Regions from separate parts of the Homo sapiens genome. Here all the other regions are linked to region 1. Evidence: promoter capture Hi-C in human tissues and cell types (Jung and others, 2019). All regions are on one chromosome and are shown on one strand. Each heading gives the region's core, a stretch centred on a gene start or on the middle of the fragment in contact. The rest is flanking DNA. Distances are from core to core; before and after follow the strand shown. Region 1 holds the start of DNPH1 (2'-deoxynucleoside 5'-phosphate N-hydrolase 1). Region 2 overlaps BICRAL (BICRA like chromatin remodeling complex associated protein). Region 3 overlaps CNPY3-GNMT (CNPY3-GNMT readthrough).

Evidence for each region. The method cuts DNA at HindIII sites, captures the fragments that hold promoters and counts their contacts. A contact is called where the count stands out against the background at its distance.
Region 2: a contact is called between a fragment that was not itself captured here and the fragment with the promoter of DNPH1 in region 1, in 1 of the 25 tissues and cell types used here (adrenal gland).
Region 3: a contact is called between a fragment that was not itself captured here and the fragment with the promoter of DNPH1 in region 1, in 2 of the 25 tissues and cell types used here (mesenchymal stem cells and mesendoderm cells).

Annotation. Positions count from the first base shown.
Region 1 is chr6:43,227,615-43,231,543 of GRCh38, reverse strand. It overlaps DNPH1 (2'-deoxynucleoside 5'-phosphate N-hydrolase 1), which reads left to right and starts at 2,063. Exons shown (of 4, transcript NM_006443.3): 1 at 2,063-2,283. The coding sequence starts at 2,088. RefSeq lists silencers at 1,765-2,204, 2,265-2,454 and an enhancer at 1,782-2,281. The HindIII fragment of the contact is 36,780 bases long and covers 1-3,929 here.
Region 2 is chr6:42,784,681-42,788,609 of GRCh38, reverse strand. All of the region lies in intron 1 of BICRAL (BICRA like chromatin remodeling complex associated protein), which reads right to left. LOC401261 (a long non-coding RNA gene) reads right to left here. Exons shown (of 2, transcript NR_134654.1): 1 at 3,279-3,929. Among named protein-coding and RNA genes, the nearest start is that of BICRAL, 4.6 kb to the right of the region's middle. The HindIII fragment of the contact is 4,014 bases long and covers 1-3,929 here.
Region 3 is chr6:42,951,309-42,955,237 of GRCh38, reverse strand. The region is part of intron 1 of CNPY3-GNMT (CNPY3-GNMT readthrough); the gene reads right to left. Among named protein-coding and RNA genes, the nearest start is that of GNMT, 7.5 kb to the left of the region's middle. The HindIII fragment of the contact is 5,528 bases long and covers 1-3,929 here.

The DNA.
Region 1 (3,929 bases), core at 814-3,313:
TCCGGGCAGAGGGAACAGCAAATGCAAAGACTCTGAGGCAAGGGCATGGCTGACATGCTTAAGGAACAGCCAGGAAGCCAGTGAGGTGGCAGAGAAGTGAATGAAAGTAATAGAAGCTGGAGTTAGGGAAGTAAGAGGGTGACAGGATCATCTGGAGCCTTGTGAGCTACTGTGAGGTTTTCAGTTTTTACCCCAAGTGAGATGGGAACCACTGGAGGGTTTTGAGCAGAGGAGGGTCATGACCTAGATCACTCAAGCTGCTGAGTGGAGAGCAAACTGTAGCAGGGAAGGGCCAGGGGAGGTGTATAGAGAACCCTTGACATAAGTAATTCCATCTTAGAAAGACTCCATCACTGGGCACATTCGCTTATGCCTGTAATCCCAGCGCTTTGGGAGGCTGAGGTAGGGGGATTGCTTGGGTCTAGGAGTTTTGAGACCAGCCGTGGAAACATAGTGAGACCTCGTCTCTACAATTTTTTTTTTTTTGAGATGGAGTTTCACTCTGTTGCCTAGGCTGGAGTGCAGTGGCGTGATCTTGGCTCACTGCAACCTCTGCCTCCCGGGTTCAAGCGATTCTCCAGCCTCAGCCTCTGGAGTAGCTGGGACTACAGGAGTGTGCCACCACGCCTGGCTAACTTTTTGTATTTTTAGTAGAGACGGGGTTTCACCGCGTTAGCCAGGATGGTCTCGATCTCCTGACCTCGTGATCTGCCCACCTCGGCCTCCCAAAGTGCTGGGATTACAGACATGAGCCACCGAGCCCAGCCAATTTTTTTTTTATTAGCTCAGCATGGTGGCACGTGCCTGTAGTCCTAGCTACTCAGGAAGCTGAGGTGGGAGGATTCCTTGAACCCTCAAACTTGAGGCACGAGTTTGAGGCTGCAGTGAGCAATGATCGTGCCTCTGCACTCCAGTGTGGGCGACAGGGACCTTGTCACCAAAAATAATAAATAAATAAATAAATAAAGTTTTAAAAAACTTCATCTTACATTTCAAAAGGCATCAAGCCAACAGGGTCCAGATGTTCGCCTAACCAATGGAGACAACACCCAACCAGATAAGGGCATCACCCTTTACTATAAGTCCTCATCAGAGGACTCAAGGACCATAAAATGATCAGGACTTCAGCAGCTAGACACGGCCACCTTAACAGACCGAGTCTTGCTATCACTCGTGCCCAGCACCTGGTGTCTGCCTCTGAAGGCTCTGCCCAAATCAAGGACTCTTCCTTGCAAGCTCTTGATGACTATCCCCATCAGGCCGGGACTCTGTCCACAGCACTCTCCTTGGACTGGTTCGTTAACCCCTTTTCTCTTGATGTTAAATGTTCTTGTGTTTGATGTGAAATTTTAACCTGTAACATTTATATCCTTACATATAATACTATGGATGGTTTGCAATACAGTCTGACTTGTGGAGTGGCTCCAGCTTGCATGCCCGCGGCTCTGACTACCGAGTGAACAGGTGGTCCTAAGGAGAACTGACTTCTTGGGAACTCCGTGTGACGCCTAGCTTTTGTGATTGAAATAGCATCAGTAAAAACCTGATCTTGTGGACAGACACAAAGGTGGGTGGACCTGGTTCTGTCTGACCTTGAGCAGCTCACGACATGTGGACACCTGTTAGGAGGCTGTGGAGAGCCCAGAGGAGGCTTAGACCAGGGTGGTGGCCCTGTAGGCGGTCGTGAGATTTCAGATTTGGAAGGACGAATCCACACGAGTTGTCAATGGATGGGACGCAGAGTTTGAGAGAAAGGGAACGATCCAGATGACTCCGAGGGTCTTGGGCCTGAGCAGCTGGGAGGATGCAGCTGGGGAAGACGGCGGGGAGGAGGGGAGCAGAAGCGGGTGAGGTGGGGAAGCCCTCGAGTTCTGCCTGGACAAGGTCAAGTTAAGGTGCGTGTTAGGCATCCGAACGTCAAGTCCAGGAAGGGTGTGTTCCCGAAAGGGTCCCGGCTGGATCCTCCCAGTTCGTCGTCCCCATTCCACAGGTGTGGACTCAGCAGCCGGGCTCTGCGCTGGGCCGGGCGGGGTCACGTGGCCGCGGGCTGGCGCCCCCTGGCGCCGGAGAGCGCGGGCGGCTGGGGAATGGCTGCTGCCATGGTGCCGGGGCGCAGCGAGAGCTGGGAGCGCGGGGAGCCTGGCCGCCCGGCCCTGTACTTCTGCGGGAGCATTCGCGGCGGACGCGAGGACAGGACGCTGTACGAGCGGATCGTGTCTCGGCTGCGGCGATTCGGGACAGTGCTCACCGAGCACGTGGCGGCCGCCGAGCTGGGCGCGCGCGGTGAGGCCCTGGGGCCGCGGGACGCGGGGACGCGGGCGCGGACCTGGCTGGGGTGGCAGGGACCCGGCCTGTCCGCCCCCCCGACCCCCGGCAGCTGCGCTCCCGGCGCCCGGAGCCCGCCCTCCTACCCCGGTGCTCCATCCAGCGCCCCAGCCCGAGAAGGAAACGGGCCGGGGCTCGGGCTGCGTGGGTCCCAGCAAGCCTGCGGGTGTAAGGCAGACTCAGCATTATCTTGACCTTTGGTTCCTTCTTGGAGAACTCTGTCTTCAGCTGCTTTCAGAGCGTTTGTAGGGTGCAACAGAAAGAAGGTAGATTGGGCTGCTTTGCTTGGGCTCAGTTCCCACCTCACCCGCTGGAATCTTTTCCACCACCCAACACGAAAGGTATCCTCCTGCCTCCCCACCAACTTTTTTTGTTTTGTTTTGTTTTGTTTTTGAAACGGAATCTCACTCTGTCGCCCAGGCTGGAGTGCAGTTGCGTGATCTCGGCTCACTGCAACCTCGACCTCCCGGGTTCAAGTGATTCTCTTGCCTCAGCCTCCCGAGTAGCTGGGACTACAGGCACGCGTCACCACACCCGGCTACTTTTTGTATTTTTAGTAGAGACGGTGTTTCACCATATTGGTCAGGCTGGTTTCGAACTCCTGACCTCAGGTGATCTGCCCGCCTCGGCCTCCCAAAGTGCTGGGATTACAGACAGGAGCCACCGCCCAGGGCCTGCCTCCCCTTTTTCTGTGAAGACATCAGCACTCTTTTAGACCTGGCTGACCCCAGTTCTCACTATTACCCTCTCTCACATTTTTGTTTTGTTGATACAAGGGCCTCTCTGTCGCCCAGGCTGGAGTGCAGTGGTGCGATCATAGCTCACTGCAGCCTCGGCTTCCTAAACTCATGATCCTCCAGCCTCAGCCTCCTATTAGCAAGGACTGCAGGGGCACGACACCATGCCTGGCTCAAAATTTTTCTGTAGAGATTGGGAGTCTCACTATGTTGCCCAGTCTGGTCCCGACCTCCTAGCCTCAAGTGATCCTCCCGCCTCAGGCCTCCCGAAGTGCTGGGACTATAGATGTGAGCCCCCATGCTGGCCTCATATTCTCTTTCAGGCCATTATTGTGTTCTGCTCCTGGCTGCTGGGTTTTTCTTTCTCTTTCTATTTATTTAGTTATTTATTTGGAAACAGTCTTGTTCTATTACCCATGCTGGAGTGCAGTGGCAAAATCTCAGCTCACTGCTAACCTCTGCCTCCCGGGCTTGAGCAATCCTCCCACCTCAGCCTCCCAAGTAGCTGGGACTACAGGTGTGTGCCGCCATACCTGGTTAAGTTTTGTATTTTTTATAGGGACGGGATTTTGCCATGTTGGCCAGGCTGGTCTTGAACTCCTGAGCCCAAGTGATCTGCCTGCCTCAGCCTCCCAAAGTGTTGGGATTACAGACATGAGCCGCTGAGTCTGGCTGGATTTCTCTAAAGCATATTTGATGTGCTGGTCTGGAATCTTGCAGATCCTTCCAGTTTGAAAATTGTATCTTGAATGCTTGTGCTTCTGCTCAGAAAACCTTAAGTGGTTTCCACTTATCCTACCCAAGAGCAGACCCACAATTTGTGGGACCTCATGCAATTCTGGGAGACCTCTTTAAAAAGACAAAAAT
Region 2 (3,929 bases), core at 689-3,188, 440 kb after region 1:
CTTTGTCTTCTGCCACACTGCGTTGTCTTGCTCCCACTAAAGGCAAGTGTTCTTCCTGTGTCTTGAATTCCTTAAGAATGCTGCTCCCGGCCAGGCATGGTGGCTCACACCTATAATCCCAACATTTTGGGAGGCCTAGGTGCGTGGATCACCTGAGGTCAGGAGTTCGAGACCAGCCTGGCTAACATGGTGGACCCGTCTCTACTAAAAATACAAAATTAGCTGGGTGTGGTGGTGCATACCTGTAATTCTAGCTACTTGGGAGGCTGAGGCAGGAGAATTGCTTGAACCCAAGAGGTGGAGGTTGCAGTGAGCTGAGATTGCGCCACTGCACTCCAGCCTGGGCAACAAGAGCAAAACTGTCTCCAAAAAAAAAAAAAAAAAAAAGAATGCTGCTCCCTTGGTAGTCTTGGTCTCTCTTCTGGATTAGTCTCACCTTCTCTATTAAATATTCTCATTAGCCTATCTAGTTCCCATTGTTTAAAAGAAAAGCCTTCTTCTTTACATAGGGAGACCCTGTCTCTATAAAAAAAATTTTTTTTTAATTAGTTGGGTTACAGTGGTGCACACCTGTGGTCCCAGCTACTCAGGAGAGGCTGAGGTAGGAGGATCACTTGAGCCCAGTAGGTTGAGTCTGTGGTAAGCCGTAATTTGCACCATTGCACTCCAACCTGGATGACTGAGTGACATCTTGTCTTAAAAAAAAATTAAAAAAAAAAAAAAGCCCTCTTCTTTGACCCCATCTCCCTCTGAAGCCACTAAGCTGCTTCTCTCCACTTTACAGCAGCAAAATTTCCCTAACGAGCTGTCGATATTCACCTCACTTCCTATTCTCTCTTCGAAGCATCCCAATGTGGCTTGGACCACTTGTCAAAACAGTCACCATCATGTTGTCAAATCCAAATAGACATTTCTCTATTCTCATTGTGTAACTTCTCAGCAGCATTTGACAGAGGTGACCATTCCCTCTTTCTTGAAAATAATAAAATACTCTCCCACTTTAATGGCTGAACCTTTTCAGTCTCCTTTGCCCAAGCTTTAGCCGTTGTTAGTGTTTTAGGGCTTTTTTTTTTCCCCACACAGAGCTGGCTGTGTGGGAGACCAGAGTTTTATTACTCCAGTCTCGCAGGGCTTGATCTTAAGGCCACAAACAATCTCAATCAGTTCCATGACATGCCATCTGTATACTAGTGACTCCCAAAATTTATGTCCAGTCTAGATCACTCCCCTCAGCTCAACTTAAATATTCAGTGCCTACTTAACTCTCCGCTTGGATGCCTCCCAAGTATTTACACAGAACTCTTGCTACCCACTCCTCTCCACCTGTTCCTCCTCCAGTCTTCTCCAACCAGCAAATGGTACCATCAGCAGCCCAAGGCTGGAGCCTGCAACCTGAAGGCACCCTTGATTCCTCCCTCTCCCTCCACAGCCAACCCATTAAGCAAATCCTTCTGATTCCACCTCCAAAATACATATGTAAAAGTTGCTGTCTACTCTGCTGTATCTCATTGCCACTTTACTTGCCTGAGATACTATCGATCTTGGGCTGACTACAATAGCCTCCTAACTTCCCTGTTTCCTCTCTTCCTCTAAATAGCCAGTTATTTTTAAAAACATTATCACTGCCCAAATTAAAACCCCTCTCATTGCCATTAGAATTAAATCCAAAAATCCCCCTATGGAGTAATACAAGACGACCTATAGGATCTCTCCAACTCCATCTCATTCCTACCCTATTCATAATTTCTCCCCTTGCTCAGAGGAGCCTTCTCTCCAGTCTAACAACCAGCCTTCCAGGTCTTTGAACTTGTTCCCAGGTCTGAAATGTCTCCCCAGCTTTTCACATGGCTAGCACAAGTTCATGTTTCACGTCTCAGCTCAAATATCACCTCTATGAAAAGACTTTCTTTGACCCTTACTAGCCAAAATGGTCATTCCCAACATACTCTTTTAGATCCACCAGCCACTTAATATTTTTTCTTAATCTGTCATTATCTTGATTTTTTAACTATTTTCTGTCCTTCCCCACTATACTGTAAATTTCATGAGTGCAGAGATCTTGCCGGTCTTAAAATTCCAACAAGGTTAAAGAAGCTACTGTTTCCCTCTAAGCAGTTTTAGATTTCCCCCTCCTTTCAAGCTTTATTGGATTTTAGTCTAGTCAAAGATTATAATTACTTTGGCATTTACCATAAAAAACAAGGGGAGAAAAACCAGAAGTGACTTCCCTTCAAAAACTGGAAGTCACTCCACCCACCTAGTGGTCTAGACTGGACACAGACTGCACAGAGGTATCCAACAAATGCTCCTTACAAAAACTTTCCAATGTGGACATATGCAAAGATGGTATAATTCTGACATCTGCATCAAAAATCTAAGTTTTAAACTACTCTCCCTAGCAATTACTAAACACAACGATTTGAGAAGAATCAACAAGAGAAAGCACAAAATAAAATCCATGATCCTTAATCCAGAGAAATTAATGATTTCATCACTGACTTGGTTCTTTCTCATTTTAGTAAGGTCATCTATTCATCACCTGCTCTAGATGCTTCTTCCTGACCTGTGTTTTTTGTCTCCAGGCTGGAGTGCAGTGGCGCGATCTCAGCTCACTACAACCTCCGTCTCCCAGGTTCAAACCATTCTCCTGTCTCAGCCTCCTGAGTAGCTGAGATTACAGGCATGTGCCCACCAAGCCCGGCTAATTTTTGTATTTTTAGTAGAAACGGGGTTTCACCACGTTGGTCAGGCTGGTCTCGAACTCCTGACCTCGTGATCCGCCCACCTCGGCCTCCCGAAGTGCTGGGATTACAGGTGTGAGCCACTGTGCCTGGCCCTGACCTGTGTTTTTATCCATATTCTGCTATTAGGTTCCACATAACTTGACTATCCTACTTCCCAAAACCCAGAAGATATGTCCACAATTCAAAATTCAGGAAACAACCTTTTCTTTTAAGGATTTATCTTCAGGTCTTTATATCAGGGTCTTTTCTACCCTATTCTCAATTTCTGGATCAATCCTGGATTCAATTCTTTTTTTTTTTTTTGAGATGGGAGTTTCGTTCTTGTTTCCCGGACTGGAGTGCAATGGTGGGGTCTCGGGCCACTGCAACCTCTGCCTCCCCAGTTCAAGTGATTCTCTCGCCTCAGCCTCCCAAGTAGCTGGGATTACAGGCACCTGCCACCACACTCGGCTAGCTTTTTTGTATTTTTAGTACAGACGGGGTTTCACCACGTTGGACAGGCTGGTCTCTAACTCCTGACTTCAGGTAATCCGCCCGCCTCAGCCTCAAAAGTGCTGGGATTACAGGCATGAGCCACCGTGCCAGGCCTCAAGGCTACGTTTGTTACACAGCTGTCTTGACTAAACTAGATGGCCTGGCTAGACCTAGAAGCCTGTATGTTGTATAACTTCTCAATAGAATGAGACAACATACTTTAAAAAAAAACGTACTGAGATTTTAAAGTCTTAGGATACCTAAACCTTTTTCTCTGAGGAAATAATTTCGATTTGATAAATGGCAGCTACAAGAGGAAAAACAAAAATGAGACTAATGTGAGCAAAAAACTACTGAAACTCAAAATTACATGGACCTCAATTCTCATGTTCCAATTCAAAAAAGAGCAGAACAGTGCATAGCATAGTACAAGACAGTCCAAACGTGTGTCTGTGTCACTGGAATCACCTGGAGAGCTTTGGAATACTAGATCTTTGGATATAGCGGGTGCAGGGTGGGCCAGAATGTCAATATTGAACATCAAGAAGTTGGAGTGCCTGACACATTATTAAAAGACCCAGTTGGCCCTAGCAAATGATGGTGGAAGAGGTGATGTTACAAATCTCTATTTAAAAACATCTCCCAAATTAATTCTGATGCTCACATTTGGAAACCATAGGTGTAGGGGGAAGAATACAGCTTTTGTGATCC
Region 3 (3,929 bases), core at 529-3,028, 280 kb after region 1:
TTGTCATTACCCTTGGGTCTTAGGTAACCTGGAACCCAGAAGAAGCTAGAAATAAACACTACCTGTTCTCACTACAACAAGTTTAGCTTTACTCAGGAAGACAATTTGACCACTGGGAAAGCATTTTATTAAAACGTTTGTTTCTATTGGCCCAAAGGATAATGCGTGCATCAGTAGGCTTCTCAGTGCTTACAGGTGGTGTTTTGGCAAAAACTGAGTGGAGGGATTTTTTTAACTCTTCTACAACCTAGATGTATTGTTTGCAGATTTGAATGTATTCACTTAATATATTAAATGTTTAATATTAAATATAAAAAAAATTAAAAAAGAAATGCTTGTTCCCCAGTGCCGTAAAGAAATAGCACTTGAACATAAATTCAATTTCCTCAGGAAGGCCATTTTTACTTTCTGCAGAAAGGGTACCCTCGTCAGCAGTTTTGCCATGAGAGTACACTGAACAAAGGAGACAGGGTCATTTATAACCTGACGCGTCCACCCTACTGCTGTGTCCGGTTTCCATTGGCTGGAATGGGACTTCACATTTTGTATTTGTCCCGATTGGCTAGCAACTTAGAACTTTTAAAAGAGGCAAAGGCAGAGGAGAACAAAGGAAGGGGAAGTAACTTGTGGAATGCTGAGAAAGGTAAAAACACCTTCAAATAAGGATGAGGAACAGGCTATGACCTAATGTTTGTTTGGACCAGTATAAGCATGCCAGGGCAAATATTTAGGCTACATTGTGGGAGCTAAGAACATAAAGGACATTGATTTCTTTATTATGACTTGCAGATATTTAAGAATGTCACCACAGATCTTTGAATAAATTTTGCTTCTAAGAGAAGTTACTATTTATCCCTAATTAGATGGGGAGGAAAGTCTTTGAAGAGGAACCTCTACTTTTTATAATAGCGATTCTCCTACCTCAGCCTCCCAAGTATACAGGTGCTCGCCACCACATCAGGCTAATTTTTATATTTTTAGTAGAGACGGGGTTTCACCATGTTGGACAAGCTGCTTTCTAACTCCTGATCTCAGGTGATCCGCCCGCCTCAGCCTCCCAAAGTGCTGGGATCACAGGCGTGAGCCACTGCGCCTGACCGAGGATGGCATCTTTGATGTAAATAAGCTTTTCCCAAATTCACAGATTAAGACTTCTACTGTCATAAAACTCTTATCTTTCAATATTTGTTCTTGCTTATGCCTCTATGAACAATAAAAGTGGAAAAGGCATCTGTTATGTGCACTAATGGGATGTACTTTTATTTGTGAAGGAGTTTGCAGCCAACCTTATATATGGATAACTTTATACTTTAATAGATAAAAAATGAAGGCCCAGTGCAGGTAAAAAACTTTAATGGGGCCAGGCACGGTGGCTTATGCCTGTAATCCCAGCACTTTGGGAGGCCGAGGCAGGTGGATCACCTGAAGTCAGGAGGTTGAGACCAGTCTAGCCAATGTGGTGAAACCCCATCTCTACTAAAAAAATATATATATATATATACATAAAAATTAGCTGGGCATGGTGGTGCACCTGTAATCCCAGCTACTCGGGAGGCTGAGGCATGAGAATCGCTTGAACCCGGGAGGCAGAGGTTGCAGTGAGCCAAGATGGTGCCATTGCACTCTAGCCTGGGCAACAAAAGCGAAACTTCGTCTCAAAAAAAAAAAAGTATCCCTCATGATGGGTTCTATAGCAAATTCTACTGTAAAGGCTACAGTTATACAATAGACTTTAAATTCTCTTGTGAAAGTTAAGATAGAATTGGCTAAACAGAGAAGTATCTGTGCAGCTGCTGGCACTTGTGGCCTACGGAGAAATACATCACATGAAGATTATAGAAATATAGTGGTAGGGGATTAACAAAGAGACTGCTTAGTCAAATGAGTAAACTTTTTTTTTTTTTTGAGACGGAGTTTTGCTCTTGTTGCCCAGGCTGGAGTGCAATGGCACGATCTCGGCTCACCGCAACCTCTGCCTCCCGGGTTCAAGCGATTCTCCTGCCTCAGCCTCCCGAGTAGCTGGGACTACAGGCATGCACCACCATGCCTGGCTAATTTTGTGTTTTTAGTAGAGACGGGGTTTCACCATGTTGGTCAGGCTGGTCTTGAACTCCCGACCTCAGGTGATCTGCCCATCTCGGCCTCCCAAAGTGCTGGGATTACAGACATGAGCCACCACGCCCGGCCATGAGTAAACTCTTTATCTAGTTCATTCTTTGATCTATGTGATTTTAGGTGGTTTGGTTTATGGGGAACCTGGGTAAGGAGCATACTCCAAACTCTTGGTATCATCCTCCCGATAGTCATAATAATAGTCTCCCTGGTGCGCTCTATTCTCTCAAAGGTTTTAAATGCTTGCGTGCAGCCATCTCTAGAATGTCAAATGGTCTCTCTTCAACTGGAATAACAGGAGCTAAAAAAATGTGCAACCATAAGGACACTATAAGCTATAAATGATGTGCTGAGATAGGAAACCCAAAATGATGGTAACTGAGAGTGGCGCTAAGTCCCTAAGGTTTGGTCACACTCTCACTTAAATGACAGCCTAACCAAAAAGGGTAATTTTTTAAACAAAATTATGGAAGGCCATTGTTTTGGACTAGGCTCATGCACTAGGCCTCAACAAACCAAACCAAAATGGAGTCGCTCATGCTAGGACTTTAAGGAAACACATAGATTCTAAAACAGACCAAGTTTTTTTTCTCCTGCAAATCTCTATGACAAACCTTTCTTTTTTTTTTTTTCTGAGACGGAGTCTCACTCCCTCGCCCCCAGACTGGAGTGCAGTGGCTCAATCTCAGCTTATTGCAACCTCCACCTCCCAGGTTCAAGCAACATTCCTGCCTCAGCCTCCTGAGTAGCTAGGATTACAGGCATGCACCACCCCGCCCGGCTAATTTTTTTGTATTTAGTAGAGACAGGGTTTCACTATGTTGGCCAGGCTGATCCTGAACTCCTGACCTCGTGATCTGCCTGCCTCGGCCTCCCAAAGTGCTGGGATTACAGACGTAAGCCACTGCGCCTGGTCAATATAACAAACATTTCTAACAGCATAGGTATCCACCCCCTGCAGTTCCCATTAAATGTTTTAACCAAATTCATTTCCTCTTGCCTAGAGACCATCAAGCTTCAGCTGATCATGCAACAAAGCTTCCAGCCAGTTCCAGGTGAAGACATCACCCCTGGCCATCAAAAAGCTACCCTGCCTCCACTAGACAGAGCAGGGTGAGAGTTCCATGATCCCTAATAGGTGGGGACCATCCCCCAAGCCAGCATGAAGCAGTTACAGAAAAAAGACCATCTGTCCCTCTGCCTCCCATAAAGATTTATGGGGATCACATCTCAGGGGGCAGATGAGGCAGGAAAATAGGGTCTGGAGGCAGGTAACATAAGGCCAATTCACACTTCATCTATAACAGGAAATATCCTCTCCTTAGGGCATACATCATTAATAACTTTGCAATTGTAACTTTACTTCATCTTCTTCATTTACATAGGGCATTCCCCAAGTAGAGGGTATTTAAACTCACAAACATTTTTAACAGGGCCTTTGAGCCCCTATGCTCATTCTCGCTCCCACACTGTGGAGTGTACTTTCATTGTCTTTTTTTTTTTTTTTTTTTTTGGGATGGAGTCTCGCTCTGTCGCCCAGGCTGGAGTGCAGTGGCGCAATCTTGGCTCACTGCAACCTCCACCTCCTGGGTTCACACCATTCTGCCTCAGTCTCCCAAGTAGCTGGGACTACAGGTGCCCACCACCACGCCTGGCTAATTTTTTTGTATTTTTAGTAGAGATGGGGTTTCACCGTGTTAGCCAGGATGGTCTCAATCTCCTGATCTTGTGATCGGCCCGCCTCAGCCTCCCAAAGTGCTGGGATTACAGGCGTGAGCCACCGCGCCCGGCTCATTTTCAATAAAACCCTTCATTCC